Regions from separate parts of the Homo sapiens genome. Here region 1 is linked to region 2. The links are contacts of gene promoters, found by promoter capture Hi-C in human tissues and cell types (Jung and others, 2019). All regions are on one chromosome and are shown on one strand. The core of a region is centred on a gene start or on the middle of the fragment in contact, and the rest is flanking DNA. Distances in the headings are between cores, read along the strand shown.

Region 1 (3,381 bases), core at 269-2,768, 47 kb after region 2:
TGGGAGACGGAGGTTGCAGTGAGCCGAGATCATGCCACTGCACTCCAGCCTGGGATACAGAGCGACACTCCATCTCAAAAAAAAAAAATTAGTTGGGCCTGGTGGTGGGCGCCTGTAATCCCAGATACTCGGGAGGCTGAGGCAAAGAATTGCTTGAACCTGGGAGGCGGAGGTCACAGTGAGTCGAGATTGTGCCACTGTACTCCAACCTGGATGACAGAGCGAGACTCCGTCTCCAAAAGGGTGAGGAGCAAGATGGGAATACTCTTCAGGAGTGTTCGGCCCTCAAGTGCAGTGATACTAAAGAGCTAGAAAGCCATACCTATCATTTCAGTGCTTGCAGAGACTGAGACAAGAGGATCACGTGAGGTCAGGAGTTCAAGACCAGCCTGGGCAACAAAGGGAGACCCTTTCTCTACAAAAAACAAACAAAATTAGCTGGGCATGGTGGTGTGTGCCTATAGTCCCAGTAAGTTGGTAGGTTGAGGCAGGAGGATCATTTGAGCCTAAGAGTTTGAGGCTGCAATGAGCTATGTATGAGATGGTATCTTTTTTTTTTTTTTTTTTGAGACTGAGTTTCACTCTGTCACCCAGGCTGGAGTGCAGTGGTGTGATCTCAGCTCACTGCAACCTCTACCTCCTGAGTTTAAGCGATTCTCCTGCCTCAGCCTCCCAAGTAGCTGTGATTACAGGCGCCCGCCACCACATCCGGCTAATTTTTGTTTTGGGGGGGTTTTTTTTGTTTGTTTTGAGACGGAGTCTTATTCTGTCGCCCAGGATGGAGTGCAGTGGCGCAATCTCGGTTCACTGCAACCTCTTCCTCCCGATTTCAAGTGATTCTCCTGCCTCAGCCTCCCGAGTAGCTGGGACTCCAGGTGCATGCCACCATGCCCGGCTAATTTTTAGTATTTTTAGTAGAGACGGGGTTTCACCATGTTAACCAGGATGGTCTCGATCTCCTGACCTCGTGATCCACCCGCCTTGGCCTCCCAAAGTGCTGGGATTACAGGCGTGAGCCACCGCGCCTGGCCTGTATTTTTTTTTAGTAGAGACGGGGTTTCAACATGTTGGCCAGGCTGTTTTCAATCTCCTGACCTCAAATGATCTGCCTGGCTTGGCTTCCTAATACACTGGGATTACAAGTGTGAGCTACCGCGCCCGGCCAAGACGCTATCTCTAAAAGAAAGAAAAAAAAAGCTGGAAGTAACCAGAGTGGGGGATTTTGCCAACAGCAAGGGGAAAGGGAGTGTTTGCAGAGGGAACCTGTGGAGGCTGGGCTGGATAAGGGTGCCAGCCAAGAGGAACACTGACAGTTTACAGGGGCCAGGTGAGGGGATGAAGTAGTCCAAAGAAGCTTAAAATATATGAAGCATAAGAAGAGGGTGCAGTGATGAGTGGGCAAGCTCCCCAACAGGGAATGACCCCTAAGGCCAGCGAGTTGGGTACTTCCCCATGGGACCCATGAAGTTACCAAGAAGAGGTGACAGAGGAGGAAGATAAAGAGGGAGGCATTGGCCGGGCATGGTGGCTCATACCTGTAATCCCAGCATTTTGGGAGGCTGAGGTGGGTGGATCACCTGAGGTTGGGAGTTGAAAACCAGCCTGACCAACATAGAGAAGCCCCGTCTCTACTAAAAATACAAAATTAGCTGGGGTGGTGGCGCATGCCTGTAATCCCAGCTACTCAGGAAGCTGAGGCAGGAGAATCACTTGAACCCTGGAGGCGGAGGTTGCAGTGAGCCAAGATCACGCCATTGTCCAGCCTAGACAACAAGAGTGAAACTCCATCTCAGAAAAAAAAAAAATTACAAAAATTAGCCAGGCATGGCCAGGCGTGATGGCTCGTGCCTGTAATCCCAGCACTTTGGGAGGCCGAGGTGGGTGGATCACGAGGTCAGGAGATCGCCACCATCCTGGCTAACACAGTGAAACCCCGTCTCTACTAAAAATACAAAAAATTAGCCAGGTGTGGTGGCGGGCGCCTGTAGTCCCAGCTACTCACTGCACTCCAGCCTGGGTGACAGAGCGAGACTCCATCTCTTTTTTTTTTTTTTTTTTTTTTTTGAGATGGAGTCTCGCTCTGTCGCCCAGGCTGGAGTGCAGTGGCGTGATCTCAGCTCACTGCAGGCTCCGCCCCCTGGGGTTCATGCCATTCTCCTGCCTCAGCCTCCCAAGTAGCTGGGACTACAGGCACCCGCCACCTCGCCCGGCTAATTTTTTGTATTTTTAGTAGAGACGGGGTTTCACCGTGTTAGCCAGGATGGTCTCGATCTCCTAACCTCAGGTGATCTGCCTGCCTCGGCCTCCCAAAGTGCTGGGATTACAGGCGTGAGCCACCACGCCCGGCCAAGACTCCATCTCAAAAAAAAAAAAAAAAAAAAAAATTAGCCAGGCATGGTGGGGCATGCCTATAGTCTCAGCTACTCGGGAGGCTGAGGCAGGAGAATTGCTTGAACCCAGAAGGTGGAGGTTGTGATGAGCTGAGATCGCGCCACTGCACTCCAGCCTAGGCAACAAGATCAAAACTCCATCTCGGGAAAAAAAAAAAAAAAAGAGGGAGGCATTGAGTCTGAGACTGGCCAGGGACCCCAGCCATGGCCATCCCTTCATAGATTCTACATACATGTTTGTGTTTTGTTTTGTTGTTTGTTTTTTGAGACAGAGTCTCCCTCTGTCACCCAGGCTGGAGTGTAATGGCGTGATCTCGGCTCACTGTAACCTCTGCCTCCCGGGTTCAAGCGATTCCCCTGCCTCAACCTCCAGAGTAGCTGGGATTATAGGCACCCGCCACTATGCATGGCTAATTTTTGTATTTTTAGTAGAGACGGGGTTTCACCATGTTGGCCAGGCTGGCCTCAAGCTCCCGACCTCAGGTGATCTGCCCGCCTCCGCTTCCCAAAGGGCTGGAATTACAGGCATGAGGTACCGCGCCTGGCTGGATTCCCCATATGTGCTGACGACCTCTGTGCCAGGCACTGTTCATGCTAAGCGCTAAGGACACAGCAGTGAACTAGATGGTAAAACCCCTGCCCCTGAGGGGCAGACATTCCTGCTATGGAGACAGATGATAAACATGATAAGGGAATCATGAGGGATGTGAGGAAGGGCTAATTTTTTTTTCAGATAGGTCTTGCTATATTGCCCAGGCTGGTGTCCAACTCCTGGGCTCAAGCGATCCTCCCATCTCATTCTCCTGAGTACCTGGGACTACAGGCGTGAGCTATCCTGCCCAGCTCCTAAGGGCTAAACCTTAAGGAGAAAGGAAGGCAGGGCAGGGGTGTCGGTGGATCTGTGCTGTTACTTAGGGTGGTCAGGGAGTCTCTCAGTGGAGGGATGATGATCCGGAAGAGGTCATGGCCCAGTCATGGGAGTATCTGGGGT
Region 2 (3,446 bases), core at 736-3,235:
GACTCCGTCCCCAGCTGCCGCAGGTCCCACAAGTTGACGTTGCGATCTCGGGAGCCCGACAGACAGAGTGACCCACCCTGGAAAGGGAGCAAGGTGATGTTGTCAGGGCCACCCTGGCCCACCCTGCCTGGCCCCCCACAGACCCCGTCTCACCTGGAGCAGCAGCACTGAGTCAACGGAAGCCACGTGGCCTTCGGCCAGGCAGAAGTATTCGACCCAGCGCCCATCCTCTGCCCAGCGGGACAGGTGCTGCTCCAGCGCAATGCAGGCTGCCGGCCAGTCAAAGTTCTTCTCTGTGGGTTACCACGAGTAGGGTGCCCAGTGGGCAGGGACCCTAGCACCCATGCCAGCTGGCCAAGCCCAACCCTGGCTTCCAGGGAGCCCACACTACACCAGACTTGGACAGAACCCCATGGAGATCCCTACTCCCACCCCAAGCCGACCCAGGCTGTGGTCTTGGGACCACCTGCCTGCCCATTTCCCAGGCAGGTCTAGGACTACTCACTCCAATTTCCAGAAATTGGGAACTGGGGTCTCAGAACTACCTCTCCAGGCGCCATCCCCCAACCCAAACTCAGGGCAGAGCAGTCTCAGGATGTTGAGGTCTGACCTCAGGCTCAGCATAGAAGCTGGGACCTCATGACTAACCCTTCCTGCCTCAGCCATCTGAACCAGACCAAGGGGGCTGTTTCTCAAACAGTATCTGGAAACCAGGGAGCCTTGTCAAGATGCAGAATGCAAGCCCCAGATGCAGATTCTGTGATATGGACGGGGTCCAAGCATCTATGTTTATTAAGCTGTTTGGGAGAGTCTGACCTGGGGGTTGGATGGCAACACCTTGAGAATCACTGATCCCGGAGTGATCCTGATTCCTCTCTAAGCAGAATCAAAGCTTCCAGGTTAAGGGTATCAAACACCCAAGCTGTAATACATCTTGGCTTAAGGGCCTGAGGATCCAGCTGTATCAGGATCAACAATATCGATTCAAAGGTCCCAAGCTGTCTTCCCTCAGGAACCAATCAACTCAGGGCCAAGAGCCACTGTCTCACCCCTAACTGGGTCAAGGCTCTAGGGCTCAGGAGTTTTGACATCAACAGGTGCTGTCTCAGCTTCTAAGCTGGACTCAGAACCTGAGGATCCTTGGGCTCACTTTGAGCCCCAGCATAAACTCCAGAGCCTAAGACTTCAAGTCCCTGTGTCAATCCCCAATCAGGGGTCAGTGGCTTAGTACCACAAGACCCCAAGACTGAGGATATTTGGATCCTGAGTCGTCCAGGAACCACAGCCCCATGTTAGGGTTTCACAGCCTCAGGACCCCAAGTGCCTGACTGCCTCGTGGTCCACCCAGAGGTCCTCAGGGGCTTCGGCACCACCAGTAACTACCTTAGCCTCCAGCCTGAGCCAGGACAGCCACGAAGCCTGCACCAGAGGCTGCATCCGGAACACCCCATGTACCTCTTCCCCGCCCCAAGCCTGACCTGGGCGGGCGCCCCCGGCCCCCGGTCCCCGGCCCCCGGCCCCGCGCACCTTCCACCACTGGGTAGGGCGCGCGTACGCGGCGTAGCGCGCGTAGCCTCCAGGTGACATGGTCAGACACGAGGTCGCGGAGCGCGTGGCACACCCGCGACAGGACGTGGAGCACGAGGCGGGCGTCCAGGTAGGAGCAGATCTCGAGCAGCAGCTCCGGGGGAAGGCTCAGAAGGCCCGGCTCACTTACGGCCGAAACCCTGGACGCGGCCCGAGGCTCCGAAGCGCTCGGGGACGCGGCGGGTGTGGATAGCTGCGAGGGGCGCGAGAACGCCAGCCCGGATTTTGGCGGACTGAGAACGCGGGCCACGTAGGCCTTGGCCTGCGCGTCTGGGTCTGTCTCTGACTCTGGGTCCGAGTCATCGTCCCAGGTGCGGGAATCATCGCACCGCCCTAGGGGAAGCTCCATTGCGACCGGGTGGGCGCTGCCGGCCTCGCGTCTTGTCTCCTAGGCAGCACGAGGGCACTTCCGGCGCTGTCTGATGACGTTTATGCGCCCACCGGAAGCGACGAAGTCAGACACTGGCTTAATACAGAACATCGCCCCGCTTACAGGGTCTCTTGCAACTGCGTCGGCCTTAGGCTGGAAAATGCAGGTTCCTGTTTCTGCGCTTTTTAAACTAGCCGATACCGAGAGCCAGCCAACTCTAGCTAAAAACGAAACTCAAGCCAGGCGGGGTGGCGCGCGCCTGTAGTTCCAGATACTCAGGAAGGTGAAGGGGTAGGATCCCTTGAGTCCAGGAGTTCGAGACTGCAGTGAGCCATGGTTGTGCCACTGTACTCCAACCTGCGCAACATAGTGAGACCCTGTCTCTTTAAATTAGACATAAAATAAACACTGCTTTAACGAAGGCATCTGTTATATGTGACACTGAGCTTAGAAACCCAAAGGCCCCTTTCCGAGTTCAAGGAGTAGAGATTGGAACTCTTGCCTCTTTTCCCAGAGCCAGAAATATGCAGTTACACTGCAGAGGCATCAGTTAAGTGACTTTTTTTTTTTTTTTTTTTTTTTTTGAGAAAGGAACTGGGGCCTCAGAACTACCTCTCCAGACCCCATTCCCCAACCCAACCTTGGAGGACAGCAGTTCAGTCCTCCAAGCGGAGTGCTTGGCTCATTGCAACCTCCGCTTTCTGGACTCAAGTGATCCTCCACCTCGGCCCCCCAGGTAGCTGGGACTACAGGCGCGCACCACCACACCCGGCTAATTTTTGTATTCTTTTGTAAAGACAGGGTTTCACTACGTTGTCCAGGCTGGTCTGGAACTCCTGAGCTCAAGCCATCCGCCCCCAACTTGGTCTCCCAAAGTACCAGGATTACAGGCGTGAACCATCGCGCCTGGTGGAAAGCTACCTTTTTCTTTTTTCTGAGACGGAGTCTCACTCTGTCACCCAGGCTGGTGTGCAGTGGCGCGATCTCGGCTGGCTGCAACCTCCGCCTCCCGGGTTCAAGCGATTCTCCTGCCTCAGCCTCTAGAGTAGCTGGGAATACAGGCACGCGCCACCACTCCTGGCTAATTTTTGTATTTTTCAGTAGAGACGGGGTCGCACTATGTTGGCCAGGCTGGTCTCAAACTCCTGACCTCGTGATCCGCCCGCCTCAGCCTCCCGAAGTGATGGGATGACAGGCGTGAGCCACTGCGCCCGGCCTAACATCACACTTACTAAAACAGCATGTTGGCCGGGTGCGGTGGCTCAGGCCTGTAATCCCACCACTTCGAGAGGCAAGGTGGGTTAATCACTTGAGGTCAGGAGTTCAAGACCAGCCTGGCCAACAAGGTGAAACCCCTTCCTACTAAAAATACAAAGAATTGGCCGGGTGTGGTGGCAGGCACCTGTAATCTCAGCTGCTCAGAGGCTGAGGCAGGAGAATCACTTGAGCCTGGGAGGCGGAGGTTGCAGTGAGCCGAGATGGCATCATT

What was found. Contacts are between HindIII fragments. The study calls those that stand out against the background at their distance.
Region 1: a fragment that was not itself captured here is called in contact with the fragment with the promoter of FBXW9 in region 2 in 1 of the 25 tissues and cell types used here (spleen).

Annotation. Positions count from the first base shown.
Region 1 is chr19:12,741,683-12,745,063 of GRCh38, forward strand. All of the region lies in intron 2 of GET3 (guided entry of tail-anchored proteins factor 3, ATPase), which reads left to right. Among named protein-coding and RNA genes, the nearest start is that of GET3, 5.9 kb to the left of the region's middle. The HindIII fragment of the contact is 4,515 bases long and covers 1-3,381 here.
Region 2 is chr19:12,694,646-12,698,091 of GRCh38, forward strand. It overlaps FBXW9 (F-box and WD repeat domain containing 9), which reads right to left and starts at 1,986. Exons shown (of 10, transcript NM_032301.3): 1 at 1,528-1,986; 2 at 154-293; 3 at 1-77. The coding sequence starts at 1,936. RefSeq lists enhancers at 1,896-1,945, 2,256-2,315. The HindIII fragment of the contact is 8,232 bases long and covers 1-3,446 here.